2 separate regions of the Homo sapiens genome follow, and region 1 is linked to region 2. Evidence: promoter capture Hi-C in 16 types of primary human blood cells and fetal thymus (Javierre and others, 2016). All regions are on one chromosome and are shown on one strand. Each heading gives the region's core, a stretch centred on a gene start or on the middle of the fragment in contact. The rest is flanking DNA. Distances are from core to core; before and after follow the strand shown.

Region 1 (4,721 bases), core at 348-2,847, 550 kb before region 2:
AAATAGATCAGTATGTCAGTCTCCTTTTTTGAATTCTGGTTTTTGTGTCTTGCTTAAGAAGGCTTTTTTTCTTTTTGTATTTTCATCTAATACTTTAAAACATTTTTCCACTTGGCTTCTTAATAAGTTATGGTTCAGATTGAGATGGTTGATTCAATGGTGTTCTAGGATGAAGTCATTTATCAGCTTAGAAGCAGGAGATCAGTTTCCAGCAGCTGTATTTTCCACAGTACAGTGTGACTGCACATAGCTTTTCAAACACATCATGTAACAAAGAAGGGATACCCTATCACAAGCAATATAAGGTTATTTGTAAAAGTGATGAAAAAGCACCCATTGTTTGAAAAAGTAAAATGTATTTCTCTCCTTGCTCAACATTTCATGGAATGGGAATTAATTTTTTTTTCTTCACAAAGCAGCTAGTCAAGATAGGAACATTTGATAATGATTATATATGAGTCAAATTCATTCTGGCCAGAAATGCAAGTACTTTATCACCGCAATTTTAAAAACCATTAAGTATGTGCAAGTGCAGAAAATACACATAATAAGCAATCAATAGAACTGAGATCCAAGTGGGTTAACGTCTTGTTCTACTCCAGGTCTTGCTTGAGACAGGACCTGATGTGACACTGACCCCTAACAACCCATCTTTTCTCTTGATACCAAAGTATCTTCAGTGACCTCAAATTAGAGTCCCCTATATTACACACAAGAAAATATACTATACATTGGGGTCTTGAGGGGAACTGGCAGAATATTTCATCCTTAAAATACGCATTTACACTTACATACTAGAATTACTTTCAGAAGACTCTTCTAGCTTGAGAATCAATTTGCCTTTATGTCAAAAAGTGTCCTTTTAAATAAAAATAGTGAAGACTTTTGTCCCTAGGCCAGTAGGGCTCTATGTATGAAACCTAATGGACTTCAGGAAATCCGTAGATTTTAAATATTTAATCATGATATGTGCTCCAAAATGTGTCATGCTTTTGGTTGACCCTCCCCAAATCCATCTTCTCTGTTTTCATTTTCAATCTATGTGTAGGATAACTGAATAGATTCACCAAAGGACTGAATGTGAGCAGGAGTGATGTGTGCAACTTCTGCTCAACAAGCTTAGAAGGAAATTGCTGCCCTTCTCTCCCTTTAACTCTTCCTGTGTCCAACGGTTGGAGCATGGATGTGGCAGGGTATTAGTTCACTCCAGCTGCCATCACAGAATATCACAGACTGGGTGGCTTAAATGACAGAAATGTATTTTCTCACAGTTTTGGAGACTCAAAGTCCAAGATCAAGGTGCTGGCAGGGTTGGTTTCTGGTAAATTCTCTCCCCGACTTGCAGACAGCACCTTCTTACTGTGTCCTCACATGACCTTTTCTCTGTGCTCATGCTGGGGTGGGGTAGAGAGGAGGAGAAAGAGAAAGAGAGAGAGAGAGAGAGAGAGGTCTGCTACCTCTCCCTCTTTTTAAAAAGGACACCAGTTGTAGCAAATTAGGATCCCACTGTTGTAATTTCATTTAACTTTTTTTTTTTTTCTGAGACAGAGTCTAATTCTGTTACCCAGGCTGGAGTGCAGTGGAGCTATCTTGGCTCACTGCAACTTCTGCCTCCCAGGTTCAAGCAATTCTCCTGCCTCAGCCTCCTGAACAGCTGGGATTACAGGTGCCTGCCACCTCGCCCACCTAATTTTTGTATTTTTAGTAGAGATGGGGTTTTGCCATGTTGGCCAGGCTGGTCTCAAACTCCTGACCTCAAGTGATCCACACACCTTGGCCTCCCAAAGTGAGCCAACATGCCTGGCTGACCTCATTTAACTTTATTCACCTCATTAAAGGCCTTGTCTCCAAGTTCAGTTCCATTGGGGGTTAGGGTGTCACATATGAATTTTGAGGGGACACAGGTCAGTCCGTAACAGGCAGTGACCCATGTCAGCCGAGCAGCAAATAACCTAAGAAACAGCAGAATCGCAAGATAAAGGGAACCTGTGGCTTTGAATGAATCACTCCAGTGAGAGCTATCAGGCTAACCTAACCTGAGTCCAAAAACCTTTTTCTGTAAAGGGCCGGATAGCAAAAGCTTTCTGGGCCCCGTGATCTCCCCGATGATGATTGAACTCCATCACTGTGGTGCAGAAGCAACTGTAGACAAGACTTGACTATGAATGAGTTAAGGAATGAGTGTTGATGTGTTCCAATAAGACTTGATTGAATGACACTAAAGATTGAATTTGTGTCATTCTCATTCTCACTGATATGGCTTGGCTGTGTCCTCACCCAAATCTCATCTCGAATTGTAGCTCCCACAATTCCCACGTGTCATGGGAGGCACCTGGTGGGAGGTAATTGAATCATGGGGGCAGGTCTTTCCCGTGCTGTTCCTGTGATAGCAGTGATAGTGAATAAGTCTCATGAGATCTGATGGTTTTATAAAGGGGAGCTCCCCTGCACAAGCTTTCTTGGCTGCCACCATGTAAGACGTCCTTTTGCTCCTCATTCTCCTTCTGCCATGATTGTGAGGCCTCCCCATCCATGTGGAACTGTGAGTTCATTAAACCTCTTTCCTTTATAAATTACCCAGTCTCAGATATGTCTTTATTAGCAGCATGAGAAGAGACATACACATACAATAGTGTTGCTGCTTTTATTTTTTATTTCCAACCAGTTAAAGATGTAAAAGCTATTCTTACCTGAGAAATTGGAAAAGGCCATGAGCTGCATTTTGCCGGCGAGGGGTTGTGTTTGCTGACCTATGACTTGGACTACTCAGCTCTCATTGCAGGGGAGACAAATACCCCTTATTTAAGTCACTGTATTTGGGGGCTTCCTTGCTAAAGGAACTTAGTCTTTACCCTAAGTAATAGACACTTGTAAAAAAAATGATCCCAGTGGCCACAGGTGGGCTTAAGAAAAGCGCTTCCTAGATGCCTAGAGGCTGCCACACCAGGGCGATCTGGAAAGGAGATGGAAAGAAAAAGTGCTTCCTCCCCTTGCCTCCTGAGACAGTGTTGCATGTGTTTAGAGAATCAGCCTTATTATTTTCACATTTATTTGGCGCTATGGTCTTTTTAAAAATCTTAATTTTTCCTTTCCTTTCCCCTTTCCTTTCCTTTCCCCTTTCCTTTCCTTTCCCCTTTCCTTTCCTTTCCCTTCCCTTGCCCTTCTCTTCCCTTCCCTTCCCTTCCCTTCCCCCTCCCCTCCCTTGCCTTCCCTTCCCTTCCCTTTCCTTCATTTCCTTTCCTTTTTCATTTCCTTTCATTTCTCCTTTCCTTTCCTTTCCTTCTTTTCTTTACTCTCTCTCCCTTTCTCCTTCTCTCCCTCTTTTTCCTCCTTCCTTCCTCTCTCCCCCCTTCCTTCTTTCCTTCCTTCCTTTCTCCCTCTCTTTTCCCTCCCTTCCTTCCTTCCTTTCTTCCTCTCTCTCTTTTCCCTCCCTTCCTTCCTTCCTTCCTTTCTCCCTCTCTTTTCCCTCCCTTCCTTCCTTCCTTCCTTCCTCTCTCTCTTTTCCCTCCCTTCCTTCCTTCCTTCCTTCCTCTCTCTCTCCCTTCTTTCCATCTTTTCTTCCTCCCTCCCTCCCTCCCTTCCTTCATTTCTTTCTTCCTCTTTCCCTCCCTTCTTGCTTACATCCTTCCTCTCACCCGCTTCTTCCCTTCTTCCCTTCCTTTCTTTCTTCCTCTTCTTAGTTATTGATATGATACAATATGATATGATATGCCTTAGTTATTGATGTGATATGCCTTAGCGATTGATACGATATGCCTTAGTTATTGATATGATCTGCCTTTAGGCGCAGTATTGGTACTTGGGTTTTGATGCTTATGTTTTATGTAATCACGGAAAATGCTGATTAATTTTCAAGGCTTACTGTTTTCTGACTGACACCCCACCACCCCCCCTCCAAAAAACTCACAAAATTTGAGCTATTTTTTATTGTTTTCTTTTTAATAATCAACAATACGTATTTATGGAGCACCCGCATGCAAAGTTCTGTGCCAAGAACTGCATCGTATCTGATTTAAAAGACACGATCCTTGCCTAGCTTACAAACCTGTTAAGAAAGCACTGGAAAATAAATATACCTCATCTAAAAAGCCTTAGGGTATCTGATATAAAGATTGCTTGAATCCAGTAAATCTATAAGTCATCTGTAGCAATGCATGAGGGAGCTTAAAGATGACAGAATGATAATTTTATGTGTCTGCTAAAAATTTTGTAACCATATTACCAACATCCTTCCCGAAAACATGCAAAAAGAGAGCATTATTTCAGAAATTTGAGCCTGATTGAAAAACAGTATTTTCACCTCTTACATCAGGCTGTTTTGAATGTTATGCCAAAAACTTCTGGGTTTCAAGAAAGATTTTTAGGACTTCCGTTGAGAAAAAAAAATGTGGTAATGGCAGACACACAGAGGTTAGCTTTTGGCTTTTCTTCCCTGTGCATGCCTTTATCTAACCTACCTCCCTGCAACCCACTTTTATAAAACCCCTGTTTTGGAAAAGTGCTAAAGGGAGAGAGGGATTGGAACAGAGGTGTTCTGTGCATAAACTTGTTATGGGTGGCAGTGAAGTCATTCCTGGGGCTCCACTCATTCTCTGCACAAGAAAGATTAATTCTTGCCCAAGTATCTGGGCCAGGGAACCTCAGGCCAGGCAGCAGGTGTGAGCATCTTTTTGTTCTGCTTTTCACTGATCTTTGTTAAAAGTGCTTTGATGGAGTAGGCT
Region 2 (4,369 bases), core at 623-3,122:
CCGAAACAAAGTCATAAGTCATGATCAAAATGCATTACACTTCATTAGTATTTTCCTTCTGCATATCAATTATTTCTATTCAATTCAAAAAAAGGTACCGAAATTCAATGCTGAGCTAGAGATGCAAACACAAATAAGGTTCTCTAATTTGGAAAGCTTCCCAAAATTTAAAATAGAGATTTTCACACAGCATTCCTAACTTTTGTTTGTTTTGCCTGTGTGGAAAATTACCTTTCACCTGAAATTCAAACTAGCTAAGCAACCTGAATGGAAAGAAAAACCTCGCAGATAATATTTCTTTACTTGAAAATAACCATCTCCACCTCTGACCTGTGTATACGGGATCAAATTGGTATGCAGAAGTTGGCTTGATGGCGGGAATCTTACCCAGATTTTGGATTAAATCCATTATAGGTATAAAATAAAGTAGGAGTAAAGTGGGGCAGGATTCCTTTCATTTCTAGGGCTTTCAGTTGACATACCTGTAAAATGGACATGCTATGCACAGCCTGCCTCAGAAGAGTAGGAGGATGGCATACTATATAATTGATAGAGTGCTATGAGCTTCACGATTAAATGGAAATACTGTTTTTATAGAACCAGAGTGAACCTGAGCATAGAAAACTCTCCAAGGGCCATCGCTGTGACATTACCGCTAAAACTCAGTGACCTTCATCAATTCACTTGTAAACAAGCAATATATTGAGCAAGTCAAAGGAAAGGCAGCAACAATTCAAGATACTTCTTTATAAGTAAATCAAATTACGTAATTAATAGCCCAGGATTTACCTGCAAACTATTACTGCCTGACTAGCAGGTGCATCCCCAAAGCCTCGAGTACAGAGACTGTTTTTAGAGAGCCCCCCCTTTTTTAAATGTGAATATTGCTTTTAAAAATTAGAAAAAGAAAAAAATCACAATTCTACTCCCACCCATGGCACAGTGACAGAAACAAGGTCCCACCCCCACAATCCTTTCAAACCTGCACAGGCATTCCTCACGAACACTCCTCCCCCTCATTCCTACCTCACCGCTCCCCACTTCAGCCCAGACAAAGCTGAGTTACTCGGCTGGGTCTACCTGTCACTTAAGAAAAAGCCCCCAAATAGATTCACGCTAAATGCTGCTTTTAATTTTTTAAATAGCAAATAAGTAAATAAATAATGCTATCGTGTAGATTACACGGCCAAACGCCTGTTCTCAGAAAACATGTAATTAACACGACCCAAGTGAAGACGCCTTTCTGGCTTAGGGAAAGAAAAAAAAGAAGCCAGCCAGCTTATCGCTCCCTTTCAGTCGGTTCTTTTCCCCGGGGAGCCGGACTCTGACTCAACTCCGCAGTTTTTCCTCCACCTGTCGGTTCTCCCCGCTCTGGGTCTGCCCCGCCGCCGCCCCCGCCCGGAGTCCCGCGCGTCAACAGGGGTCTCCAGGGGTCCTCAGGGTCCCGCCCGAGGCGGCCCCGCCCCTGCCCCGGCCCCGCCCCCACCTCCTCACAAGGTGCCCGCCGCGGGCTCCCAGGCTGAGGCGCCTAGAGGCCGGCAGGAGGCTCCGGAGGACCGCGGCACCGCTCGGCCCGGTCGCCGGCGCAGGGAGCAGCTTCGGGGGCCGACCCCACCGCCCGAGCCTAGCCCTGGGCTCCGACAGGCGCTCCCCAGAGGCGCCCCATTACCTGCTCTGGGCTGCCGCGGTCCGCGGGCAGGAGGCGCACTCGCTCTGGCCCCTGCAGCCCCGGGCCCGGAGGCAAGGAGGCAGCGACCGCCACCGCCGCAGAGGACAATCGGGAGCCAGCGGGCTCGGCACCGCCGCGGCGGGCGCAGAACGCACGAGCCCAGTGGGAGCCCGGCCCCCGCCTCCAGCCCGGCTAGTAACCAACACGGCCCCCACCCTCGGAGGGGCGGGACCGCGGTTGGAGGGGCGGGGCGGGGCTGCACCGCCCGCGGGTAAGAGGGGCCTGCTGATAGGCTGCGAAGGCGATAGGCGTCTCAGACTTGAAGACGCCTCTCCAGCAGAACTCCCTCATTGGTCGGCAAGAGAAAACAAAGCTGGGCTCTGATTGGTGACAGCTCTGTAGCTCCTCCTCATACCCGCAGTCCCCGCAAGTTCCACCCCTGCCCGCCCGGTTCGCTCGCCCTTGGTTCCCACTCCCAGGTGGCTGCAGACTGGAGTGTGTTTCATGGACGAGCAACCTCCCTGAGGAGAACCCCGGATACGCAGGTTCATTCGCCAGATGCGAGTTTTCTTAAGCCGCTGCGATTCTCTGATTTCAGTATGAACTTGGTGAATAACGTAATCTTTAACTTCCTTTGGATTCAGACAAGTCTCCTAGGTTTAAAAATGCTGCATAAGATTGAGAGGGATATTGTTATGCACGAAAAAAGACATAAGGTGTTTTCACCTTTGGCGACACTGTAGGTGACTTTTTCTTATTACCTTTTTGTGTTCCATATTGAACATGTACTACATGATTAGAAAAAAAAATTCTTAAATAGAAAAATGAGTAGGGTGCGGAGAATGGTAAAGACAAACTTTAAGGAAATCCAGAGAACTGATTCTTTCACAATAGAAGAAAATACAGTAAACATGCTTAATATCTGAGGGCTACCCCGAAAAAACATGAACTGGTATCAGCGCCCTTCAGCTCTCTTAAAGAACTTTACATATGTGACCGAGGTGCCCCCATACTCCTTCCTATCATGTAACCAACACATAATGTGGACAGCACTACACTGCAAACAGAATTACAGGAAGACTCTTATAGGAAGAATTAGAATCCAAAGTACACAATCAATAAAGCTTTAGAAAAAGGGGTAGTAAAAAGCAGAAGACAAAAAAAAATCAGGTAATATAAATTGGAAAGCTCAGCTGATGGAGGGAATCATCAGAAAAAAAATAATGTGACAACACTTCAAGATGTGATAGAGACTTTGAATGGAAAGCTGAAGGGAGAGGAAGGGGATTGAGATAAGGATCAATGACCTGCAGTTAATATGAGCTCTCAGAACACATCCCCCAGAACTGGTGTCAGCCTAGAAGGCAAGAAGCATTTCTCACCTAGGGACCACTCTCACTTAACTCTCTCTAGCTGCCTTAACATTCTGTTTGTTCTTGTCATTCTCGCAAAGTTCTAAAACAGGCTATTTGAAATTAAGCACTTCCCCCCAGCAACTCCGTGAATTACGTAATAGTGAAAAATGGAGATAGACAAAAAGCAAACCTGAGGAAGGAAAGGAATGTTAAGGTAAACATAAACTTAAAGAGAAGTAAGGGCAAAACACCTGATAGAAAGAAGACAAGAAATTCTTTTTTCTCTCTTACTTCCTGAGAATAAAGTAAAGGTCTTTGGAGGACAGAATAACCTTATTGCCTAACAAAAAGAGTTTTTACCAAACCTTTCTAATAATAACTGTAATTCTAAACTGTAGTCTAAAAATACGTGTCCTAAAGTAAGTACTTTGAGCAAATAGTTTTGAGATCTAATATTTTTACATTGTGTAAGGAAAAGAAGAGGAACTTAGCCTAGTATGAACAAACTGTAGGGAATACCCTTCAAAAGTTTCTTCTACAATAACACCTGAAATTCCATCACTAACATTCTTTCACTGGGATTAAATAATGTATGTCTAAGATTATTCTTTTATTCATTTACTCATCAAACGTAATCAATATTAATCATCAAATACTAGATACTGCAATGAACGAGGCTTTCTACTAAGCACTCAGAGTATAGCCTTGAACAAGACAGACTTGCAGCTGTTTTTATCAGAAGATGGACAATGATCCAATAAAAAGATAAACTTCCAGACCGGGATCAGGGCAAAGAAGAAAACAGTGACCAGAGGGATGGGAGACACACTTAATTTTGGGAAAGGAGAAAAATGCTTTAAGGAGAAATGATCTAAGAGAAATGCTCTAAGATTTGAGGCACCACCTAAATAAGAAAACACCAACTTAGCAAAACTCCAGGGCAGATAAAATAGCAAGAACAAAGGACTTGAAGTAGGAAGAAAAGTGATGTATAGCAGGAACAGAGAGAAAGCCAGCATGGGTATCATGGTGCATAAGGAGAGTGCTACTAGACAGGTTGGAGAAGGAGGTGAGGACCTCGTAGGCAATGGTAACTTTGTATTTTGTTACAAGGATTCCTGACGGGCAACATCGAGTTGCTGATAGTGGAGTAAAATCATTATTTTTTTTTTTCCTTTTTCAGAGTCACCAGTAAAATGAGCATTCATTCATTAAGCCAATCATCAGGAATGGATCTAGGAAGAACCTACTGTTTACTAGAAATAGGTTAGATCTGTGGATATAACAATGAATAAGACAAGACTGGTGGATCTATAGAGAAACTATTACTGCACAGGTGATGGGG

The links. Contacts are between HindIII fragments. The CHiCAGO score rates a contact against its expected background, and 5 or more counts as called.
Region 1: a contact is called between a fragment that was not itself captured here and the fragment with the promoter of MPP7 in region 2, in 1 of 17 cell types (fetal thymus). The highest score is 7.7, in fetal thymus.

The regions. Positions count from the first base shown.
Region 1 is chr10:27,749,826-27,754,546 of GRCh38, forward strand. The region is part of intron 1 of MKX-AS1 (MKX antisense RNA 1); the gene reads left to right. Among named protein-coding and RNA genes, the nearest start is that of MKX, 6.4 kb to the left of the region's middle. The HindIII fragment of the contact is 962 bases long and covers 1,117-2,078 here.
Region 2 is chr10:28,301,192-28,305,560 of GRCh38, forward strand. It overlaps MPP7 (MAGUK p55 scaffold protein 7), which reads right to left and starts at 1,873. Exons shown (of 17, transcript NM_001318170.2): 1 at 1,670-1,873. MPP7-DT (MPP7 divergent transcript) reads left to right here and starts at 1,978. Exons shown (of 2, transcript XR_930772.3): 1 at 1,978-3,238; 2 at 4,208-4,369. RefSeq lists a silencer at 1,420-2,059. The HindIII fragment of the contact is 2,637 bases long and covers 155-2,791 here.